2 separate regions of the Homo sapiens genome follow, and region 2 is linked to region 1. The links are contacts of gene promoters, found by promoter capture Hi-C in blood cells and fetal thymus (Javierre and others, 2016). All regions are on one chromosome and are shown on one strand. Each heading gives the region's core, a stretch centred on a gene start or on the middle of the fragment in contact. The rest is flanking DNA. Distances are from core to core; before and after follow the strand shown.

The links. The method cuts DNA at HindIII sites, captures the fragments that hold promoters and counts their contacts. A CHiCAGO score of 5 or more calls a contact.
Region 2: a fragment that was not itself captured here is called in contact with the fragment with the promoter of OPN1SW in region 1 in 1 of 17 cell types (M1 macrophages); the score reaches 7.2 in M1 macrophages.

The regions. Positions count from the first base shown.
Region 1 is chr7:128,772,043-128,778,812 of GRCh38, forward strand. OPN1SW (opsin 1, short wave sensitive) reads right to left here and starts at 3,752. Exons shown (of 5, transcript NM_001385125.1): 1 at 3,397-3,752; 2 at 2,944-3,112; 3 at 2,456-2,621; 4 at 1,607-1,846; 5 at 443-617. The coding sequence starts at 3,739. The coding sequence ends at 498. It overlaps CALU (calumenin), which reads left to right. Exons shown (of 7, transcript NM_001219.5): 7 at 1-1,358. RefSeq lists cis regulatory regions at 3,738-4,305, 3,746-4,740, 3,749-6,770, 3,749-6,770, 3,749-4,848 and 1 more. The HindIII fragment of the contact is 6,893 bases long and covers 609-6,770 here.
Region 2 is chr7:128,690,769-128,697,352 of GRCh38, forward strand. It overlaps a transcript of GARIN1A not described here and the pseudogene IMP3P2. Among named protein-coding and RNA genes, the nearest start is that of GARIN1B, 21 kb to the right of the region's middle. RefSeq lists an enhancer at 2,813-3,313. The HindIII fragment of the contact is 257 bases long and covers 1,919-2,175 here.

The sequences.
Region 1 (6,770 bases), core at 2,502-5,001:
GGGGCCACTGAGTTTTTTTTGTTTTTTTTTTTGTTTTGTTTTGTTTTTTCTTTATGTCTCTCCCATTTCTAAAGTGTTTTCTTAAGTTTGTTCTAATTCAGCATATATCATCTCAGAATGGATCCCCAGCAGGAAAAAAAAAAAAAGTTACTAAAAAGGAAAGTATCCATACACTGAAAACTTAAAGCATATTCCTTTTTGGTTGCCTTGTATGTAGAAATCAGTTCTCCAAGTGCTGTGAATGGTGCCACTTAGGAGTAGAAACTGATGATTGTTGAAATGGCCTTTGGGTGGTCTGAAATAGACCAGTGGAAACAGTAGCTTTGTAGGCAAGAAGGCAATAGTAAGAAAATGAAAAATTGACTCCCCAAACTGCCATCACTCCTTTTACCATCTTTTTTGTGTTTTTAGTAGTTTGGTTTCTGACGGAGACAATAGAAACTTACTTAAAAGTAAAATTTAATTCTAGCTGTTGCAAACAGGCCAATATTGGGTCCTCAGTTGGGGCCAACTTGGGTAGACGAGACAGTAGAAACTTCTGTTTTCTGGGAGCTGCATGTGTCGGATTCATCTGTCATGGCCTTCCCACACACCATCTTCATGATGCAAGCTTGGAACTGGAGAGAAAGGTACAATTGGAGATAACCTTGGCAGATGAGGAAGTATGGGAAAAAAGACCTTATTCTCTGTATCACCAAAGCCTTGCACAATGCTTTGTACCCAGAATGCCCTTAGGTGGTTTTGAATCTATCTTCCCCATCCTGAAAACTATCTAGATTCCAGTCTAGAACTACTCCTGGGTCTACGGTAATCCTAAACTGGTCAAGTCTGAGACCTCACTGTTGGTAAATTCACAAACCATCCTGCTTCATAAAAGCACTGTCAGCAGAGGCCCCTCCATTACTAGCAGGTGCTCCCAGCTGGAAAGGACTGCCAATTCTCTTCTATCCAGGGAGGTTTCAAATTAGTTTTGAGTCTACCTCTGGGATTGAGGAAACAATACCATCTGAAAGTAGGGTTTTTGCCACTTAGGGTTTGGTGTTTATTAGCTCGGATTTCAGATGGGATAGGAAATCCCCCAGTACCTTCAGATGATAAGATATTTTAGAGATTTTTGCATGTGGTATGATTTCTGTGCTTCACACATGCTCGTGCAGGCTAAAAGTTGGAAGGGAAATGATTAAGAAATTATTAAATGCAAGGACTGAAAATTGAGAGGAATCTGAGTTTTTATTTTTATTTTTTTAATTTTATTTAAGTTCCAGGATACATGTGCAGGATGTGCAGGTTTGTTACATAGGTAAACGTGTGCCATGGTGGTTTGCTGCACGAGTTTTTCAATAAAATGCTTTCATTCATCCTGTTCTTTGGAGCAACTTCATTTTCCTGACTCAAGTTCTTTCCTCCGGGGTTCTATTTTCTCGTCTTGATAACCGTGCCTTCCTCCCTGTGCTTACCAAAGGCTTCCCAACCTACTCGGGGGTTTTGTGGCTTCCCTCGTCTACTAGAAACCTGGGTAGAGTCCAGGGTGCTCTGAGTTAAAAGTCAATGGTGAGAAAAGAACCAGGGTCTTCTGGACCATAGGAATGTGAATAAAGAGCTTTACCTGCTTATTCATGAAGCAGTAGATGATGGGATTGTAGATGCAAGCACTCTTGGAGAAGAATGAAGGAATGGTGACAAGCCGTAAGTCCAGCCCATGGTTACGGTTGTTGACCATGTACATGGCGAAGGCCGCGTAGGGCACGTAGCAGACACAGAAGGATCCTACCATCACAACCACCATGCGGCTCACCTCCCGTTCAGCCTTCTGGGTCGTAGCTGACTCCTGCTGCTGAGCTGCAACCTGGGGTGGAGCACGGAAAGCATCACATCTCTCTTTTTCCTGGCCCTCTGGATGCTTTTTTTTTTTTTTTTTAATTTTTAATTTTTAATTTTCTTTTTGAGACCGAGTCTCGCTCTGTTGCCCAGGCTGGAGTTGCAGTGGTGCAGTCTCGGCTCACTGAACCTCCACCTCCCGGGTTCAAGTGATTCTTTTGTCTCAGCCTCCTGAGTAGCTGGGGTTACAAGCACACACCACCATGCCCAGCTAATTTTCGCATTTTAGCATTTTGCCATGTAGGCCAGGCTGGTCTGGAACTATTGACCTCAGGTGATCCGTCTGCTTCGGCCTCCCAAAGTGCTGGGATTATAGGCGTGAGCCACTGCGCCCGGTCTCTGGATGCTTTTCTGTGGGATGGGGGAGGGGGCATCCACTCTGATTGCCTCTTTTCTGTCCCATCTCCTGGCCTAGTTCCTTTGGATCTCCATCATTCTCCCTCCTCCTACTTCCTTTGCTGCTTTTAGATACCCTCTCTGGCTATGGACATTTCCAGGCATCTTATGTTTCAGAGCACTCTTCCTTCTCATGTGGAGCCCCGAACCCCTTCTTCCCTGACTATCAAATGCCACTCACAGCTTTCAGGGCCCTCAGCAGCTGAGTGTAGGAGAAGCAGATGAGGGAGAGAGGCACAATGAAGCAGAAGATGAAGAGGAACCACGTATAGGACTCGCTGCGGTATTTGGTGCCCACGGTGTACCAGTCAGGGCCACAGGAACACTGCAGGCCCTCAGGGATGAACCTGCAAAGGACCAAACACTTGCTCACTGGACTCTCCACAAGAGTGCAGTGGGAGCTGAGATGCCTGGATTGTGTTCTCCACTTAGAACCCACGGAATGCCCTAAGGCTTCAAGCAGGGGGGTTTTCTGTCCTGACTGGGAGAAGCTACAGCAATTCCAACTGCAGAGTAAACGTTAGCACTTGTCTCCCACTGCCCTTTCGCCTCATATTGCAACTCTTTAAAAGTAGAGGTCAAAGACTAAATAGTTATACCCAAGCTCTCTTTCCACCCACATCAACCTGAGCTCCTAGTTAACTCAGCACCACTGCCCTGCACTCTCACCGGCTCCAGCCAAAGAAGGGTGGGATGGAGACGCCAATACCAATGGTCCAGGTAGCCAGGACCACCGTCAGTGCATGCTTGGAGCTGAAGCGGAAGTTGCCGAAGGGCTTACAGATGACAATGTAGCGCTCAAAGGCCAGGAAGGCCAGTGACCATCCTGTAACCAGACCTGTGGTGAAATGTGAGGATAATGGGCTAGACAGAGCCCCACCCAGCCTGGCTGGCAGAGTGGCAAACAGATCGGGTGGAGCAAGCACAGAGAGACAGGGCTGGACTGACATTTGGAGTGAAGACTCAAACATCCTATTTTAGCCAAACTTCTAGTCTGGGTTGCTTTGTACCCCAGTATTTTAAAAAGCACCAGACTCATTTCCCCCAGACTCCTCTTTAGGAACCCCCTCCAGTGGAGTAGCAACCTTTGCCTTCCCCTAACCCCTTTTTCCCCTGCAGTACCTGCTACAGTGCCCAGGAAGCCCTCCAAAGCACAAACATGGCGACCGAAGACGAAGTATCCGTTACAGCTGGCGACGAAGACAGGGAAGACAGAGAAGATGCAGAGGAGGAAGCCTCCGAAGGACACGTTGACCAGAATGTAGTTGAGGGGCTGCCGCAACTTTTTGTAGCGCAGTGTGGCCACCAGCACCATGGCATTGAGTGGGAACCCTATAAGGAAGACAGTGCCCATGAAAGCTGCCTGGAGGTAGAAGGCCCAGACAGGGGCAATGTGGTACTGAGGCCCATCCCACGGCCCCACTGAAGAGATATTTTTGAACAGATAAAACTCTTCCTCCGACATTTTTCTCATGGATGCCCCACACCCCCCTCTGAGTCCTCTTATAGGTGATCCTCCCACCCCACAAAACCCCTCCTCTAAAAACACTTGGGCTCTGTGAATGATCAATACTAATCCTAAACCTCCCAAGGACAAAGTTTGGGATTAGAAATCCCTAAACCACTACCTAAACCTTTTGTGGCCCCAAAGCCGATTGTGTTCTTCAGAGGATAAGAGATTGGGCTCAAATAATCTGGATATGCAATGCTGGGTGCTGGGATGAACAGAAGTGGACTCCCTGAGGTCTGGGAGGTGCTGACCCATATTCACTGAAGATGCTTCCACTTTTTTGTTCTTTTAATGGGGCTATAGAAAGGGCACGCCTCTTATTTTGGCTTCTGGCACAACTGTATCAGTTAAGTTTTCCTCAACTCATCTGCCCCTTTGTGGAAGGTGCCCATCTTAAGTCTGCTGAGAGGCTAGGAACCAGCCCTGGGCTGCAGGAAAGGGCTGGGAGTGGGGAGTGCCCTGGAAGCACATCAGTAAACAGCCTTGATGGAACAGGACTTAGGCAACTTGACAATGCCTAGAGGTCTAGGGCATCCCTGAGCCAGGCTGCCTCCATTTCTTTGTGTTGAATCTACTCAAAGAGTGTGCCTTTCCTACTCAGACCTCCAGCCAGGGAGGTGGGTCTGTTCACTGTCCTTACGCCATGTTCATGCCTACCCCTACCCTTAGCTCAACAAGTCGCCACAGTCTTCCTCCTGTCTGTTCATTGAAGTCTTATCTAGCCCTCACAGCCTACCTCACAAACACCTCTTCTGTGCAGCCCACCCCAGTGACACCAACTCTGCTTTAAGTTCCACCTGCACTTGTACTCAGTACTACACTTTAGGCTTTATGAATGAATCTTTTCCACCTCAGCAGATCATAAATATATAGATGAGTTGGCCGGGCGTGGTGGCTCAAGCCTGTAATCCCAGCACTTTGGGAGGCTGAGATGGGTGGATCACAAGGTCAGGAGATCGAGACCATCCTGGCTAACGGTGAAACCCCGTCTCTACTAAAAATACAAAAAATTAGCTGGGTGTGGTGGTGGGCGCCTGTAGTCCCAGCTACTTGGGAGGCTGAGGCAGGAGAATGGCGTGAACCCGGGAGGCGGAGCCTGCAGTGAGCCGAGATCACGCCACTGCACTCCAGCCTGTGGGACAGAGCGAGACTATATATATAGATGAGTTAAAAGTGACACACTTTAGGTATAAGTAAGTTTAAAAGTGAAAGGATGGTCCAGTAATGGCAGAATAGTTTATTAGATGAATGCCCCCTTAGGCAAAAAAATTGTAAACTGGACACAATATGAAAAACAACTTTTTGAAAACACCTAAAGTATCCAAAGCAGGCAGAAACTGAAAGGAACTCAACTCTTCAATGAAAAGAACCATCTACATTGTTGTTTTTTTTTTTCCCTGAGTGTACTCCCGAGTATAAATGGCACAGGATAGCTAGAACTTGAGCAGAAAGCCCCAGCCTTTTTTGGCTTGAAGAGTCAGAGGACAGAGGACAGGAGACAGAGGACAGTTTGGGACTCCAGAACAGCTGAAGGTGGATTTCCTGGAATGAAAGAAGCCACAGAAGGCAAAGTCTTTAAATCTGCATATAAACTCCCCTCAAATCATAGGCTGACTGCTGAACTGTGGATGGAGGAATTTCCAAGAGCCCAGTAAAAGACAACCACTGGAGGTCTGAAAGAGCTAAGCAGATTTTGACTGTTACCCACTGTAGCAGAGAAAGAGTTTGAATTTGAATCCCAAGTCAGAGGGTCTGGGTAAACACTTAGGGCTTTCTACTTGAAACTCCCAAAAGGCCACACCATAGAGCTAAAATCTATATCCCAGGACTAAATATTTGTTCTGAGAGTAAGGTCAAAGCCAAAGCTGACTCATACTAGCAAAAGATAAAACCAAGCCTCAGCGGGTTCAAGGTGATCAACTAGTAAGTTAATTGCTTATTAGAACAAAAATCAACACCCCTCAATGGAAGATAACCCAGTTTCTAAAGTTCACTATCTACAATGTCTAATATACAATGAAAAATTAAAAGGCGTGTGAAAGAAAAAAAAAACCCACAGGAAAATATGAGTCATAGCCAAAAGAAAAAGCAAGCAATAGAAACAGAACCTGAGATGACCCAAGAAGTTGGCACCAGCAGGAAAAACTTCAAACAGCGATATAAATATATTCAAGAACTGGAAGGAAAAAAATGATCATCGTGAGTTAATGGATCTCAGCAGAAGAATGGGAAAAATAAAATAGCCAAATGGAAATTCCAGAACTGAAAACTACAACATGTCAAATGAAGAATTTACTAGATGGCTGAACAGCAGATTGGACAGCAGAAGAAAGGATCAGTGAACTTACAGATAGATCAATAACAAAAAGATATCTGGAAAATCCCCCAAACACTTATGAATAAGCAATATACATCTAAATATCCTGTGAGTCAAAAGAGAAATCATAAGGAAAAACTGAAAGAATTTCAGCTGAATAACAACAAAAAAGTATTAGAAATTGAAGGAGTCAGCTAAAGCAGTACTTAGAGAAAAATTTATAGCTTTAAGTATTTATACTAGACAATAAATGTTTAAAATTTAAACTTTCACCTTGAGAAGCTGAAAGGGTGAATCAAATCTAAAATAAATAGGGGCAGATACTAAAAAGCAGAGCAGAAAACATTGAAATTAAAAATGAATAAAGAATGGAGAAAAATCAATGAAACCTGAAGCAAAACAAAATAGTTCTCTCCTGTCTCCAGCATCTCCTCAGTAGGATCTGAGCCAATCTCAGGTCACTGCAACCTCCATCTCCTGGGTTCAAGTGATTCTCTTGCCTCAGTCTCCCATGTAGCTGGGATTACAGGTCTGTGCCACCATGCCCAGCTAATTTTTGCATTTTTAGTAGAGACAGGGTTTCACCATTTTGGCCAGGCTGTTCTCAAACTCCTGACCTCAGGTGATCTGACCACCTCGGCCTCCCGAAGTGCTGGGATTACAGGCATG
Region 2 (6,584 bases), core at 797-3,296, 83 kb before region 1:
TGTAGGAAAAAAGTGAAGGCAATATCCAGGTGAAGAGAGATGAAGAGAGAGTCCAGAATGACAGGAGAACAGCAGCCCCAGAAAGCAGTCAGCTCTTACTGGAGCAGGAGAGAGGACTCTGCTAAATACATCTCCGCAAAGATCAAATTGATGGAATACCTGATGTGTTTGAATGCACTGAGAGACTTACGCTTATGGCAAAGTTTAGGGGTGTGTTAGGAATAGGACTATTAAGCCAAGCAAACAAAAAATAATATAAATATTAACTCTGAGAGGAAGAAGTTGTACAAAAAAAGAAATATAATTCAAGTATGTACTATATCTTTGACTATTCATAATACTGTACACATCGAATATAGATTGAATCAAAGCAGAGGATGGTTGAAGCTCAATTTGGGGGATGGGGGAAAGGGGAAGGGAAAAAAGGTGAAGATTAAACCCTTCCCTTCCATGGCTGGAAGTTCTGTGCCCCAGAATTCCCTTGGTTCCTGCATGTTCTCCAAGCTGATCTACATCTAAGAGCTCATCACGTCTGGTTTCCAGGTGGGTTTGGCCAGTGGGAAACCCAGGCAGGAGATCAGAGAGGATGAGGAGAATGGGGTCAGGACAACTATTTCCTCCCTTGTGGTGACATAAGGTAGGCTGTTAACAGAGGGAAACTGTCAGAAGTATTTGAACCAGAGCAACTCCATCTTGAATGGGGGCTGGGTAAAATAAGGCTGAGACCTACTGGGCTCCATTCCTAGGAGGCTAGGCATTCTTAGTCAAAGGATGAGATAAGAGGTTGGCACAAGATACAGGTCACAAAGACACCACTGGCCAAGACCCACCAACACTAAGATGGTGATAAAAGGGACCTCTGGTCGTCCCCACTGCTCATTATATGCTCATTATAATGCATTAGCATGCGAAAGGGCTGCTATTCTCTAATAAACTTGCTTTCACTTTATGGACTGACCCTGAGTTCTTCTTGTACCAGGTCCAAGAACCCTCTCTTGGGGTCTGGATCGGGACCCCTTTCCGGTAACAAAACTGCTCCTCTCGTGGTGGCTTCCTCTACTAGACTCTCCTGTATCCAGTAACCACTCCCTCCCTTCATCCTTCAGATCCCTGGTATGGACTTAGCTAGCTTGATGCCCCCTTCCTGAATTGTGTAACGTGAGCAGGAACATCACTCATCTCCATGCAGGCGTTGTCGCAGTGGGGCCACCATCCTGGCCAGGCAGTCCCGGCCATGAGACAGTCGCTGGGCTTCCCTCCAGCTTACTGCTTTTTGGTTCTGGCCTATTCTCCATGCCTGGTTCTTTTAACCTTCAGTTGGTATGAAGAGCTCCCCAATAGTCTTCCAATAAATTCCCTTCGGCTTGGGTTGGCTGCATGTTTTCTACGTGTACACCCATGAAGTCTAATTGATGTGGTTCTGTGCCCAGAAACATGGAAGCTGCGTAGGGAAACGTGCCAGCCATATGTGTGTACCTGCCAGTGCCTGGGTCCTACTAGACTGACCCAGTTAAAGTGTCTATTTCTTGTTAAATAAATCCCTTTCTGCCATAGCCAGCTGTGGCTGCTCCACATTGTTTCTCCTTCAAAATGAGGGAAGAAACAACAGCCCTTGCTGACTGGGCTCATCCTTGAAGTTGATTTCTCAGAATCTATTTCTTAGATGAAAACACCACACGGATTGGTGAAATTTCTAATGGCCAATACACACACCATTTAAAAGAGAAAAGAAACAAAACATTGTTATCCGGAGTTAATTATGCTCCACCAGGACATGGCATCTGCAAAAACAATCCCCAAGACAATGTAAAAATGCATCTTAAAGTTTCTGACATGGAATTCAGAGAAAAGAGAAAATGTCCTCAAGGAATAACACCCAAATGGACCCTCTTAAAAGATGTGGTGGAAATTATATGGAAGCTTCATAAATGCCTTTGTAAGTCTTGAGAAAAATAAGCAGCGGGTTAATTAGGGCTTTACTGTTGTAGGTGAGGCAGCCGGCAGGGAAGCAGAGAAGCTGGGAGCATGAATGTATAGAAACGCGTGGTTCTGGGTTCATTAGTGACCTCCCAGAAACACAGGTCATCAATTTAGAGAAAACAAAACACAAGGGGCTCATCTCGAGAAATCCAAGACCATGGCTTCAAAAGTGGTTCCAATCACTGAGAGTGGTAAAGCTTCATAATTTAAAATGAATATTTAGAGTTATTAAGGCTGAGGCCATTTACAGAAGCTGTAACTTGAAACCACCAGAATTACCACAATCTACAGATAGTCTAAGAGAAGGCGGTTCTGGATTTTGCTCTGTCTCTGATTCCTGCCTGATTTAGAACAAATCGATTTATTTCCCCATTGGGGATACAGATAATTTTCTTTTAGTAAACTATCACTGAATTTTTAAATTATGTCCAAAGAAAACATTGTTTTGTGGTGTTAATAATTGCAACAGCAGCCAGAAACACACCATATATCCATTACATGCAAAGAAATAGTCACAGTTAGAGTATTCTAAGTTGCTTTTATAATCTTTCTAAAGTCTCCAAATTAAGTACACTGCCTTGGACAAGGAAGGAAAGAAATGTCTGTGACCTCCATCCCTCCTCTCACTCCGTTCAAGGGCCATATCTGGATGCAAGAGGAATGTGGTGTTTTGGGGTCCTGCCACTCTGTCTGTAGTCATCGTGGTGCTGAAGCTTAAGTTCCATGAGCAGAAGCTGCTGGAGCAGGTGGACTTCCTGAAATGGGAGGTCACGGACCACAGCCTCCACGGGCTGCCTCCCTGGCTGCAGAGGGAGGCCGACCCGTGCTGCAGCCAGCGGAGCCTTGCATGCCAGAGCTGCCCAAACACTGCTGCACAAGCTGTATGCTCTGGGCCTGGTGCCCACACATGGCTTGCTCGAACTCTGCGACATTGTCAGGGCTTTGTCCAGGCCTTGTCCTTGTCGTTGTCGCTGCTGCCTCCTCCCTACCATTCTCCTCAGGCTGCAGGGCCTTCATGGAGCAAAGCCATGTGCTTGTAGGCCCTGGATGTGGTTACCGACTCCACCTTTCTTTGTCACATGCCGCATGGAGGACTTTGTCACCTGGGTCGGCTCATCCAAGATCAAGCAACACATGCCATCATACAACGGGGAGTGCAATGACTTCGATCTGGAAGCCTAGCTGGTCTCCTAGTCTCCACGGCTGCCTGTCTTTTACAGATACGACAACCAATGCTGGAGATTCTATAAGGGCGCTCCCCACAAGAGTGTCAGCAGGTTGTAGTTTCTTAGGTTCCTCAATGGCAGGCCATGCACAGAGCCAAGGAGGGGAGAGGGCGTGGTGCCTGTTTTCAAGGAAATTTTCTTAGTATTCTTAGTACTTGGACTACTGATTATTAAATGACTGTGCCTTGGGAGACAGTGAAAAGTGGTTTGGTGCTGCACTGTAGAATTGTTAGCTTCTTGTGTTGGAAACTTTTTAGTGTAAAAGCAAGAACTCTGGCCGAGCATGGTGGCTCACGCCTGTAATCCCAGCACTTTGGGAGGCTGAGGCGGGCGGATCACTTGAGGTCAGGAGTTCAAGACTAGCCTAGCCAACATGGTGAAACCCCGTCTCTACTAAAAAATACAAAAATTAGCCAGGCATGGTGGTGGGTGCCTGTAATCCCAACTACTCGGGAGGCTGAGGCAGGGACAATTGCTTGAACCCGGGAGGTAGAGGTTGCAGTGAGTCGAGATTGTGCCACTGGACTCCAGCCTGGGCAAGAGAGTGAGACTCTGTCTCAAAAAAAAAAAGAAAGAAAGAAAGAAAAAAACCAGCACATGGACTTTAGTCCACGTGTAACATATAACCCATGATAATGTAAGTAAACTTTGATAGGACAATTCTATAAGGGGTACTGGTCACAAGAATTTTTCCTCTCTGAGCATAAGAATTCAGTCCACCCAGTCCATGCATCTATATATAACAATACTTTGGGAGGTTATAAGCACAGGAAAAGGGTTTGTGGAGAATGACTAAACTCACAAACTGAAATGAAGACTAAATATATTTTGCAAGGCAGTTAATTTAGGCATAAATATAGTCACTCAACTGTGAATATCATGCATGGAGTTCTGAAGGCTGAACTTCCAGCCTTCTTCACTAAAGACTGAAATTTGCTTTGCTCAGCTCTTTTCTGGACTCCTTTCTTCCTAGTTCCGTTGGTCTTTGTGTACTGACATTATCTCTATAGCAAGTTGCCTTCTTGCTTTAAGGTCTATACCAGTCTCACGTTTAGCTGCAAACAATGAGAAGCCAATCAACAAGGGCTTAAGGAACTCTATTCACTATGTCTAACCTTTAAAGAAAAAGATGTTACTATCTTTGCAGGCCAAACCAAGTCTTTGGTAATACGCTGGGTATCTTCTCTAAGCTCCTGCTCCCATCCCACCCCAGGCCAGGCCAAGCCACTGTCCACCCTCCACCATCCTGCTCTCTGCCCCAGAGGCTGGGAACCTCTATGGACTGTATCAAGGGAGGCGCATGCTGTCCGGCTTTGGTTGGATTTGACCAGTGGGAAATCAAGGAGGACTGGGTAGGAGAGTCTCAGGCTGCAGCACAGTTCCAAGAAAGTTTCAGCAGACTGACAATGAACCCTTAAATTCAGTGCACGTTAGAGGAATCTGCATCTCCCCGGAATGGGGTCTCCCTGCAGCTGGAGGTCTGAATACAGCATCTTCATGGTCACCACAAGGAGAAGTATAGATTACACCACTGCCCAAGTCCACCTGAACATTTTTAAATTTTATTTTTATTTTTTTTCTTTGAGACGGGAGTCTTGCTCTGTTGCCCAGGCTGGAGTGCGGTGGTGTGATCTCGCCTCACTGCAGCCTCGTCCTCCCAGGTTCAAGTGATTCTTATGCCTCAGCCATCCCAGTAGCTGTGATTACAGGTGTGGGCCACCATGCCTGGCTAATTTTTGTAGATTCTTTTGTAGAGACAGGGTTTCATCATGTTGGCCAAGCTGGTCTTGAACACCTGGCCTCAAGTGATCTGTCCGCCTCGGCCTCCCAAAGTGTTGAGATTACAGGTGTGAGCCACCATGCCCAGCCATATATTATTTTATTTATTTCCTTTTCCTCCAGTAGAATAAATTCCATACCTATACTACACATTGTGCAAAATAATATTTTTCAGGTTTTAAGACATTCCCAAGGAAGTGTAGATGCTTGTGTGGAATTTCCCTCCCTTCCTCCCTCCCTGCCTTCCTAACTTCCTTTTTTTTTTTTTTTTTTTTTTTTGACAAGGTCTCACTCTATCACCCAGGCTGGAGTGCAGTGGCACAATCATGGCTCACTGCAGTCTTGAATGCCTGGGCTGCAGCTATTCTCCCACCTCAGCCTCCTACGTAGCTGGGACTGCAGGTGAGCAACGATGCCTGGCTAATTTTTAAAAATATTATTATTTGTAGAGGTGAGGTCTTGCTATATTGCCCAAGCTGGTCTCGAACTCCTGGGCTCAAAGTGATCCTCCTGCCTCAGCCTCCCAAGTTGCTGGAATTACAAGCGTGAGCCCCTGTGCCTGGCTGCTTCTGTGGAACTTCTATACACCTTTTTGTCCATTGTGTTTTGAAACTGCCCACTGCCCCTCTGTGTCTCATTTTTCTAATCTGTCCCATAATCTCTATGTCCTCTTGGCCATTTTAGATGTCTTTGTATCAACTTTCTCTAGTCTTTCTGTCAACACAGTTTTTTGTCTGGACTGAGATGTGTAACAAGATTATTAACTTTTTTCAGGTCTAACATTCTAAGTCAGGCCAGGTGTGGTGGCTCACGCCTATAATCCTAGCACTCTGGGAGGCTGAGGCAGGAGGATCACTCGAGGTCAGGAGTTCAAAACCAGCCTCCTGGGCAATAGAACAAGACCCTGTCTCAAAAAAAAGAAAAAGGATTCTAGGTCAATGAGTCCCAGTGGGCAGAACTCCACCACAGAAGGTGTTTGGAAGTTCTTAAATGATGGGGTGTTTGGGGAGTCACCATGGCTGGAGGGCACTAACGGCATTCTGGCAGTTGAGGGCCATGATGCTGGAAGCCCTACAGAGAATAAATAATGATCTTCTTATGCCACTCTGACCATTCTGGCAGGTGAAGAACATGTTTACAACTACTTGAGTCTAGACCCTAACTCCCCCAACCCACTCACCCAATTTTAATATACACAGAATTTTCCAGGAAGTTAACCATCATGTAAATCAAGGGAAGATGGTACTTTGGGGTTTGTGTGTGTGTTTTGTTTGTTTGTTCTTGGTGCTTAACCAAAAGTTGTTCACAGTTTGGAAAATCATTACAAAGTTGCTCCTAGGACAGTAAAACCTATTTAATAAGTGGGGTTCAGATCCCCTACACAACCTTGGTTTTAGTTGGGATTCACTCTGAGTGGGGCTTGGAGGGAAGGGTAAAGCCAGCAGGAAAAGACAGGCGGCTCCTGCAGGGCAGCTCTCCTGGGTCCAGAATTCTCCCTACAGGTCTCCCCAGATCAAGCCAAGGAAATGGGCGCCAAGTAACCAGAGACTGCTGGAGTCATTGCCAGTGGTCCCGTGAATCACAGCCAGCCTCAAGACC